Linked DNA regions of Homo sapiens: region 1 is linked to region 2. Evidence: promoter capture Hi-C in 16 types of primary human blood cells and fetal thymus (Javierre and others, 2016). All regions are on one chromosome and are shown on one strand. The core of a region is centred on a gene start or on the middle of the fragment in contact, and the rest is flanking DNA. Distances in the headings are between cores, read along the strand shown. Region 1 overlaps SLC25A46 (solute carrier family 25 member 46). Region 2 holds the start of FER (FER tyrosine kinase).

The links. The method cuts DNA at HindIII sites, captures the fragments that hold promoters and counts their contacts. A CHiCAGO score of 5 or more calls a contact.
Region 1: a contact is called between a fragment that was not itself captured here and the fragment with the promoter of FER in region 2, in 1 of 17 cell types (naive CD8 T cells). The highest score is 5.5, in naive CD8 T cells.

What each region holds. Positions count from the first base shown.
Region 1 is chr5:110,749,285-110,754,812 of GRCh38, reverse strand. The region is part of intron 5 of SLC25A46 (solute carrier family 25 member 46); the gene reads right to left. Among named protein-coding and RNA genes, the nearest start is that of SLC25A46, 13 kb to the right of the region's middle. RefSeq lists an enhancer at 1,999-2,258. The HindIII fragment of the contact is 3,478 bases long and covers 1,216-4,693 here.
Region 2 is chr5:108,744,612-108,750,470 of GRCh38, reverse strand. It overlaps FER (FER tyrosine kinase), which reads right to left and starts at 2,574. Exons shown (of 20, transcript NM_005246.4): 1 at 2,471-2,574. RefSeq lists silencers at 1,028-1,437, 1,568-1,627, 1,708-1,807. The HindIII fragment of the contact is 11,506 bases long and covers 59-5,859 here.

The sequences.
Region 1 (5,528 bases), core at 1,705-4,204, 2.0 Mb before region 2:
TGGAACTCTGTTCTAAACCCCGGTACTCTCTGCCTGTACTGCCTCTCATCTTATTTGATACAAAGAAGAACCTTGTGAGATAAGCAGAGCAGATATTGTCACACTTGTCTTACTGATGAGAAAAATCAGGGTCAAAAAGATCACAGGAAAATGTTCAAAGGAAACAGGCAAAAATGCCAGGTCTGGAACCAAGGTGTAGGATTTTGTGCATTCTGTCTGCTAGTTTGGTTACCTTTGGAAAACAAGAAAAGAAAGAAAAAAAAGGAAGGAAGAAAAAAAAAAGAAAGAAAGAAGGAAGGGAGGGAGGGAGGCAAGCTGAAATGAAATAGAACCAAAGGTGAAAAAAGGGAGTAAGTTCTATCAAGAGAAAAGTCCAAAAAGAGTCAAGATTATAGAGGGTAAAAAAAAAAGAAAAGAAAAAAAAAGAAAGTAAATAAGAAGAAAAAAATGAAAAGGCAGGGGAGATAGAAGAAAAATGAAAAGAAAAAGAGAAAAAAAAAACAGAAAGGGAAGTGCAAAATAAAGATAAGACTTGCTACCAACAGTTTCTCTGATGGAATGGGTACTCATTCCATCATGGCTATGGCTACAGCAGGAATCTAGATAAACATTTTCTATTTCACATGACTGAATTTGAAAAACAACAGCATATACATACATCAGAGACTTTCAGACAATAGAGCAACTACCCCCGATTTCTAAGACCTTAGAGCACCTTCTGGGCCGAACTCTGATTAAATTACTATTAGGATATTTATTTGGCCTGAACAACACAATGTAGCTGAAATCATATTATTCAATGATTAAGTCGAAAAATATAAAAAATAGATTAGGCCTCCCATCTTACTGAAAGTTACTTTATGATTATAAAACAAAATACGTTACATGCTTTGTAAATCATCTTGGCACAGCTAATACTCATGGCCTCACAAAGTATTACCACAGTTTATGACGACACCAATTTTAAGTATGAAACTGTGGTAAACACTTAGGACTGGGTAGCCTCCCCTTTAAATACAATGTCAATTCTGAGTTACCTCCCCTTTGATGACTACTGCCAATTCTTAAGATCATTAAGATAAAAGGAGACTTAAAACCAAGTATTTAAAAAAATGCTTTTGGGACTCTTCTTTGTATCTGTTCTCTACTACTTTATAAAATGGGTAAAATTTACTGTTACAGCTCTAGAAATTTAAATAAGCATACTTAAAAGCTTCAGTCACTAAACCTTTTTATAATTCATTATCAAATACCAAACATGTAAATATATCTAAATTATCTATTTCCAAGCAAAAAATGCCCTCCCTAATGAACGAAAAAATTAATAAAATTTATTCGAGTACCTTGCTTTTCTCAAAACAGTCTAGTTTTTCATTTAACAAATCAAAACACATACTCCTATGCATAATCAACACAAAAAAGGCAATAAAATTCTAAAATAACTCTGTCTCAGCAGTCTTTAATTTTCAAATGGTCAAATAGCTATCCTAATTAAAAAAAAAAAAAAAAAACTTACCCCAACCTACTCTAAACCCCTCATCTTCCAGTTACCTCTCTTCATCAATCCTAGTCAGAGCCAACCATCTAAACTTTCTGTTTCCACGTCTGTACTTTCCCACTCACCTCTGAACCCACTTCAAATTGGTTTTGAACAAAAACAGCTCTTACCAAAGTCTCCAATAATCTGCATGTCATTAAATCTGATGGACATTTTTAAGTCTCTACCTTATTTGACATTTCAGCAGCCATCAGAGCCTCTTCTCTCCTTGAAGCACTCTTTGCCCCTGTGCTCCACTAGCCCATTCTGTTGGTTTTTATCCTGCCTTCTGGTCTCTCCTGACTCCTTTTCAAGACCACCTTTCTTAACCCAGCCACCCCTTGGTTGGAGTTCCTAAGGTTCAGACTCTATTCTTCTACCATAGTGTATCCTTCTTCCCTAGCGACGCTCATATCTAGGGTTAGAGCTTCAAAATCTCCCAAATTAATTTACCTTCAGTTAAGAATTCTTTATATGCCAGCCCCATATCATGTGCCTACAGACAACTCCATCTGGATATGATAAAAGATCTGAAAATGCACTTGTACTAAAGTCCAACTTAAAATCTTTCTTTTCTACTTAAACTCTTTCAGTGTTCCCTACTCAGGAACTATTAATCAGAAAGGAAATCTATTGAATTTGAGGAAGATTTCATTGTGTTTAAAATAACGTGTGTTTAAAATAAGCAAATTCGGAGGGAACCGTTGGAGGAAAACTACAAGATGTTTACAGTGGTATAACCACAGATGTGTGATGAGTCAAAACTAAGTTGGAGTTGAACCAAATGGGTTTTGTGAGAGACTGAACCACACAGGTAGCCTTGGTTACAGGAACTCCTACCTCGCGTTAACAGTCTGAAAAAAGCCACATGTAAATTAAGTAAAGGGTACTGTGGGGGTAGAACGACACATGGTTTAACTCACTGCAACTGGGAGAGAGAACAGGGAAGGGTTTAGCAGTATCTACTGCTAAAGAGATCACACATGACGATCCTGGCTAATATATAATTTGTTAAAAAGTAATACTACTGAGAAATTATAAATTTGCTGACTTAATGAACACTAGAGATCTGCTGTTTTTCTCTTTGATTTGATCATAAACTGTATTTAAAAACCCCTAAATATTGGCAAATCTGTACTATCTCCCCTGTTCTACCTAGTAAATGTTACGCAATTAAAAAACCCCAGGCTAGGAGACCTCAGAGCTCATCCTCCTCATGTAGTAGCTTCTGTGAACTGCTGTTAATGTTTTGTGACCTTGTTTGCTCCTTCTTCCCATTAATAGGATACAGAAACAAACTCTGCCTTCTTCCCATTAATAGGAAAGGTCAAATCTGCCCAAAGAAGAATAAATAATTTTTTAAAAGATATTCACACTATACTTCAAAAAAACAGCTTCATTTGACAACTAGTTACACAAGCCCAAATACAAGAAGTCATTCTTCATACTGCCTTCTCTTTGATCTACCATTCCTAAAGCATCACCAAATTCCCTCAGTTTGACCTAAGTATATTTCAAAACTGTCCACTTACCTCTATCTCAAAAGATACCACCCTGATCTTAGCCACTATCTTTTCTTACCTTTATTATTGTAATAGAATACTAAGATGTCTCCTTTTATTCACTTTGGTCCTCATACAACCTTTTCATCTACAGTTACAATGACCCTTTGAAAACAAATCTGATGTCACTGACCTTACTGAACCTCTTCAATATTCTTAAAATGGCCTACAGGGCCACACATGTTCTGGCTCCCACCTGCTCTGTACCCTTACCCTTGGCCAGAGCTCCAGCCATGTGAGGCTTCTCTCAGTTACACCTGAATTCTCTAGGCTCCCCACTGCAACAGCATTTTTGTACAAACTGGTATGTACCTCCTAATTACCACTCTGATCTACCTTAAGTGTCATGTTACTAGGGACACTGTTTCTAGCCCTTTAATACTTTCATGGAACTATATTCTTTTGCTTCAGAAAACAAATTTCAATTTGCAATTATTCATTAATGGAATTATTGTTCTTAGTGAATGTACTTTTATTAGATTCTGAGCTTCCTGGCAACAGTTACCTTTTGTTTATTTTCCTCACTGTAAACCCGGTTTTTAGCACAGAACCTGGCACATAGTAAGTACTCAGGAAATGTTAGCCAAGTAAATGAATGAATTAATGAGTGGGCCTTATCACCAAAATTATCCAAGTAGAACAATGCAATAGAGGTTACTATTTTGTCTTCTTTGGAAAGATTCAAAATGATGAAAATATATTCCCACTCAGTTGACATGTCTGTCTACTGAGTAAGAAAGTTAGATGATAAAATTTTATAAAGTCCTATGCCTTCCCATTCCTATTTTTCTTTTTTCTTCCCTGTAGCCTGAAATTAATGTTATTCCTTCATCTCTGCTTTAGAGAGGCAACATTACTTGCATAAGGTCCCAGAAATAAAAAGTGGAATAGCCAGGACCTGAACCAATAGTGTTCTGGTTGCAAATATAGTCAACCCTCCATATCCATGGGTTCCACATACATGGATTCAGGCAACTACGGATTTACAATATTTATTTAAAAAAGGGATAGTTGCATCTGTACTGAATGTGTACAGAGTTTTTTTCTTTCTTGTCATTATTCCCTAAACAATATAGAATAACAACTATTTACATAGCATTTACATTGTATTTGGTATTACAAGGAATCAAGAAATGATTTAAAGTATACAGGAGGTTATGTACAGGTTGTATGCAAATACAACACCATTTTATAAAAGGGACTTAAGCATCTCTGGATTTTGGTATCCACTGGGGGTCCTGGAATCAATCCCCTACAGATATGAGGAACAACTGCATTGAATTTTTTTCACTCTACCAAATGGAATTTCCTGCATTTTGTTATTTTTTTACAGAATTGTTTGTTAAAGAATTTCAAGAATATTTGACTATAAGTACTAACTTGGGATCTTATCTAGTGATATAAAAGCAATAAAGTGAATAGTTAGCCAAACAACGAAATACAGATTTTTAAAGAATAAAACAAGAAACTCTGAGCTGCCCAAATGTTGCTGACCTTTCTAATCTTTGTTTTGTTTCAAACGTTTTAGCAAAGTTTATTTAAGGCACTTCAAGACTACGAGGTCCTTCAAAAGCAATCACATTGGAAAAAAGCTTACTATCAGTTTCTCTTGCTTTCATTTCCTTCCCTGTAAGGACTAAATCCCAACATTGGGCATATGCGTTACACTAGTAGCTATGCCTTCAACTATCTCACTTCTTTAACAATGCAAAAAATTCACCTTGCCAGAGAATAAATTTGGATTAACAAACCATTCCAAAGCCTTTAACATTATCGATAGGATGATATACAAAAATATAGTGCTGATATAGAAAATCAGAGTAATGCCAAATAGCACCTTAAAAATTTCTAATTTCCAATATTACCTATTAACATTCCTTTCATATACTCTTTGTAAGATTCCTTTGTTACCCATCATTGTGACTGTCCCAAATGTGTATCATTCCTCTCATGCTTTTCTACTACAACCCCAATGCTTATCATTTTTTCACCAAATAACCCTGTATCCTGCTTCACAGAGAAAAGAGAGACCCAAAAGCAAATTTCCCTAATTTCTCTACCCTCTCTCTCAAATGTATCTACACTTCTAATTCTCCCATTTTTGGTTTCTAGAACATGATTGTCCTACATCTTATGCTATTTCCAATTTGTCTGAGGCCCTCTCTAATTTCTCTCATTATCTCCCCCAACTACCCCCCTTCCCACCGCTCCCACACACACACGGCACACATGTATGCCTAGGATTCTGTCCTTGGTCCATTTTATTCATTTAATCTATGCTTTCTCCTTAGGTGATTTCATCTATCCTAAGCTTCAGCTGCTACTTTTATGCCACAATACCCAAAGCTCTCCCTGTGCTTCAATTTTCTATTTTTTTTTTTTTACTCTGATCCATGGTTCCAACCAAATATGAGACATGTCCCTCTCCC
Region 2 (5,859 bases), core at 1,325-3,824:
ATTCCCAGCATCTTTGGAAGCATAATTCTCTTGGCTCAAAAGTACTAGCAGAAAAGCTTTCCTGGACTACAAAAAGATACACTCTGCTTTCCCGACTGACAAACCTGGAGCTACTCACAAATGTCTTCTTAAGGGCAACACAGGTATATATACCAGGACTACAAATACTGCACTAAAGATTTTGCAATAGTTTTTTTTTTTTATCCTATTCTCATTCCACATATGAATTGAAAAGTATTTTCTAATCTTTAATCACTAAAATAGTTTTGATCTATTCTCTTATTGATGTTCCACTACACTTTTATATATGGTAACCTCATCTGAGAAATTTATTATCTTAACATATCTGGAGAAAAGGAAAATGGAGTACACCTTTACAGCAGTTTATGTCAAAGTGATAGTGAGACAACCATTAATATACGCAACTTCTGAATTAAAAAGGTTAAAAAGCTGCTCTTTTTTTAACCATAAGGCGAAGGAAAAAAATGTAAGGCTACCAGCCGTAACAAATTATTAGATTTTGAATTGCACTACAGTGGATGGCAAAATCGCAAACGTACAAAGTGCCCACCTCATAGTACAATCCTCAATTTGTTTAAGAAGTACCTTGCCCCTACCAACACAACCCAATGAGCGTATTCAGAAAGTAGATCCTAGGGGTAACTGTAAGGCAGAAGGATGACCCCTGAAGGTGCCTCCAAACATCTCCCCAATTCTAACTGGCAAAGAGACCACAGAGCAGAAATTACCGACGACACCACTAGCTTCACACTTAAGATCTATCTCTTGATTAGACTCTTGGAGGACACCTCTGGCCAAGACCGGAGGAGAAAGATGAGGTGGGGGATAAAAGCGGGAGAAGGTGACAGATAGGAGGAGAGCTGGGGAGGACCGAGCGGGTCAAGGGAGACTGCGGGGCTCCAGAAGCAGGAAGGGATGGGGGGAATACCAGGGGTTGAGAATGCCCCCGTAGCGGGACGGCGGCGCCCAGATGAGTGCCGCCGAGAAAAGGGGTGAGGGTACAGGCAAGATTGGGTGGTGCCCACAGTCCCCCCACCACCCCGCCTCACGCCCATCAGCCCCCAGACCCCGCGACGGGGCGGAGCCACTACGCCCGCCACAGCCCTTTCGCGCCGGCACCCGCCCCCTCAGCCTTCGGGTCCCGGGATGGTGGGAGGGGCGGCCCTCGTGGGGCTGGGTGTGTAGCCCGGCCCAAGCCCCAACCAGGAATGCTCTGCTGCGGGCGGGAGGATGAGCGGATGACCCTGCAGCCAGGGACGGGGGTTGGGGGGGGCGCTGGCTGAGGGCGGAGGAAGAGCCTCGGCACAGCCCCCAACGCCCTGGCCGAATCCCGGGCGCCCCTCTGCGGGCAGGCATTGTTGCCCCCGCTCTAGGCTTGCCTTCCCTCCTCTTCCCCCCTCCCCCCGCGTTGCCCCGGGCAACAGCGCCTACCGCCGGCGGCGCGAAACGCACCTACCTAGAACCTGACAAGCCCGAACCCCTCAGACTCCGGAGCCAGTCACCACCCCGCGTCACGGGGGCTGCCACAGCCAATAGGCGCCACTGTCACGAACCTCTGCAACCAATCCCGCTGCACTCCGGTCTCCGGGCACCCTCGAGGCCTCAGCCAATGGGCAAGAGCGGAAGGCGGGCGCAGCCGCCCGGCCCTCAGCCCCCTCCTCCACTACCTCCCAGGAGGCGGGGAGCGGCCGATTGGCCCGGTCCCCGAAGGGGCAGGACTTGGGCCCTAGGCTGGGTGGGCGCACGCTTAGCCCAAGCTGCGGGCCCTGGGAGTGGAGACGCGGAGCTGCGGTCGCCGCTTTCTGGGCTCGCTCACCAGCCCGGGTGGAGTCCCGAGGTCTGCGCGTTTGTGCCGCTCTCCCCGCCTCGGTAACCTGCTCCTCCCTAGCGGGTGTCCTGGGCTGCCGTGGTGAGATGGGGCCGGAGACGGACGAAGGCCTCACAGGAAACTTTGGGAGGCTCGCCTGGCCGCGGCCGGGAAGTGGCCGGACCGGCGATGATAAGCTGAGGCCGCCTGGAAGGGACTACTCGGCGGGTCGGCAGCCGGAAAGGAATTCGGAGAGTGGGGGCGGAGGCGTGATTAAAATGTTAAGTGTGCCCGGAGGGCGCTGGGCGATCCCTGGAGCTGAAATCTCCGGGAAGGGAAGCTGCTTTAGGGCCGCGAGGCCCCCACCCCTAAAATAGGCACTTTTCAGCCTCAGAATTGGTCACTTTTTCCTGTACGTTCCCACGTTTTACTTGTATCTGTTATTAACGTGGATTGCTTTAGAATGGTTTTCAGCAACTCCAGTTTACTCTGAGTCCCTTAAGGACGGGAACTGTCTTTCAATCCTGTACTCCCAGTGCCTGAGCCTGCCTAAAAATGTTAGAAACTCAATGCTGGAATTGTAATGGATGTTTAAAAGCATACAGCAGGTCCTGGGAGTGGCCCCCTATAATAAATTCTTACCTCTTCGGGAGTCTAGAATGCGTGGAGAACCCAAACGGGTCTGCTCTTCAGTGATGGCCGTTTCTGAAGCGTCCTTCACCAAAAGAATTTGGTGAAAAATGAGTAATGTGAACTACAAGATTATTACTAGGTGATCAGTAACAGTAGGATAGGTATGCGTCATTATTCGAGGGTGTGACCCTCCCATGTTCCTGTAGTAGACTTTTTAAGGCGGTGTTATCTTTTGCATTGGTTGAACCACATAGCGTCAATCCGGTATTTCCCCTCCCTCTCAAAAACTGAGTTACATAGGAGCCAAAGAAGAGTGGTGAATATTTTCTCTAAGCAGGGTTATTTATTTAACCGTAGAGAACAGCCCTACACATAAAAAAACATAAATCTTAAGTTGGACTTTTTTTAAGTCTACTGTTTTAAAGCTAAATAAACAAAAACCAACATAAAAATTTTAAATAAGAGGCTTAATTCTCCCTATTGAAAATGGAGGATGAGATTTCCCGTCCCTTTCTCTCCGAGCATTTGTCTTAGAAAACTTAAGTACTTTCTTAATTGTTAAGTACTTTCTCAACTCTTTGAAATGTGTATAAATCCACTTGAGGACTAGATAGGTCTTGTCAACTGTATGCTCAGTCAGGAATGTCTCTGGACCTTTTTTTTTTTTTTTTTTTTGAAATGCTGCACATATCAACGGAGTAGCATCCTTCCCTATCTCCCAGTTTCTGTGAGAGAGTAGGAGCGTAACTTCGGTGAGCAACTTGCTCCGTGTTGCAAAACTACCTTCCGTCATAAAGACAGGAGAAGTTTGTTTTTCCTCTGGATAAAACCAATTAACTAACACAGATGGTCACCCCAATTATTAAGTAAAGTTAATGTCACAAATGTCAGGTCCTCTTACTTGAGGACTAGTTATTGTTCAACTTGAAAACGTGTATGTAATGGGTCGTATATACTTGGCTATACAAAAGGGCAAGATTTCTGTCTTTGCAATCTCTTAGCAAATTGCCTGTGATGTGTATCACAGTCTCGTTTAATGCTTATTCAGTAATAAAAGTGTTTTGTCTACTAACGTTTGTGGAGAGGATTTCTGGGTTGGGAGATTTTGGTTTTTAATTATATTTTTCCAACAATGCCTATACCCAGAATGTTGGGATGACAAAGTTAAGGAAAGTAGTTACTTCGGAGTTTTTAAATTGTTCTCTAAAATGATGGTTAATGTTTCATATGTATTTCATAGTGATTGTTAAATGCACAAACTGTGGTTCTGTGAGTAAACTTCTTAAAATAGAAGTTAATTTTCTGTGAACATCAAATGTTATAGTATATGTAATGTCAATAAGAATGAAATGAATGAAAATTTGGTTAGGTAAGGCCAAAATACAACTTTGGAGACTGCTTCATGACTGAATACCTTTCCCAAGAACCTTAGAATTTCTCCATTTATACAAAGGGAATCAAAATGTAGAAAGATGTGGTTGGTGAATACGTTATTACATATTTGCAGAAAGTAGCTTTCAATAAAGATATGGTAGAAATAGAGCTGTTTGATACACAACATGTGTGTTTGTGTTAAGGAACCCAAATCTAGAAAAATCAGCAAGAATCTTTCCATATCTACAATTGTTCTCTGAGTTCTCACCTATTCATTCCAAAACCTTAAAAGCTGTCTACCATATGCCAGTCATTGTGCTAGGAAATGCAGTTGTGAAAGAATATACTTGAAGTAAATGAATGTGGCAAAAATCTATGCTGCATTTTTGAAGCATACAAAAATATATAGCAAATCCAGTTTCACATTTTTTTCCTCTGTTGGAATTATCACATTGCATTGCAACACATTTAATAAACACTGTGTGTCACCTTAGTATATATTCCATGTTCTCAAATACCAAACTTTGTCTGTTCTAATAGCATTACTTACTGGACAATGAAAATAATAATGTGGACATCAAACCTAGGTGGGTAATAAAAAATGATTGAAAAGTTTTTTACTTTTTTTGATTAGCACCATCCATGCCTCACCCCATCTCTCCACCTCCCTTTTTTCCTGTTTAAAAGTATAGACTGCAAGAGGAATCTTGGTTGTGTGCCATCTTAGTTCAGTAGTTCCAATACTTACCCCTCCCTCCTTTTCTTCATCTGTGTCTCTTTTCTGCCAACTCCTTTGATTTGTGACTCTCTGCTTTCTAATCCACAATTCATACCTATCCACAATTCATAACTAACCATACACACATACTGCTCCTAAAATAGAGATCATGATGAGGTATGCAATATGGAAACCATATCTATCCTTATTCTATACATGCTGCAGTGTTTGTTTTCAGTGGATATATATTTTTTTCTTTTTGAAAATTGTTCTCTTGAATGAATACTGTTCCTAGAGGTCACATTTGTGTGAAATTTTCTTTAGGACTGTTTTGGCTTTCCAAATTTCAAATTTTCAAAATGGCTTAATCATTTCCTTTATTTTTTGAATCTGTGTTAGGAAAATAGCAGAGTAGTTGGAGGGGGAGGGAAGAAAAGAAAATGAAGTAGACTTGAAGGAAGAAAACATCCATTCTGTCTTCAAACTAGATGTCAAATGTATTAACACCATCTCCCAACCATCTTTCCCAGCCAGCGGGTGGCCATCCTAGTACTCTAATTAATATTGGTTCTCCTGCTTCCCTGACCTGCTCTCCATTAAGAAATCCACCAACATTCGTAATCAAGACATGCCTTCTCCAAAATGCCCCTGGATCACTAAAGGCCTGTCCCTTTTTAAGCCATCCTTTTCTCAGATTTTTTTTTTCATTTCTTTTTTAAAACAGAGTCTCACTGTTACCCAGGCTGGAGTGCAGTGGTGTGATCTCAGCTCACTGCAACCTCCGCCTTCCAGGTTCAGGCTGTTCTCCTGCCTCGGCCTCCAGGGATTACAGGCATGTGCCACCACGCTCAGCTAATTTTTGTATTTTTATTAGAGACAAAGTTTCACCAAGTTGGCCAGGCTGGTTTCGAACTCCTGACTTCAAGTGATCCACCTCTCTCGGGCTCCCAAAGTTCTGGGATTACAGGCATAAGCCACCGTGCCCGGCCTTTTCTCAGAATTGACCTGTCCTTTTCCTCATCCCCTTATCCCTGGTTCATTATGGCTTCAGAGTTAACTGAAAAATGTGTGTGCCTGTGTAACAGTGCTGTAATAATGAATTTATATGTGTGATATTATCAGAATCACCTGAGGATCTTTTCAAAAATAGACTCCCAGATTAACTCCCAAAGATTCTCACTTGGAAAGGCAAAAAAGTTCAGGAAAGTCTGTATGTTTGGCATGAGACCAGTGAATTATTCAACATGGTGTGTTGAACTCAGGCATTTATCTCTGCTCTGTCCTGAAAATCCTTGATATAACATAA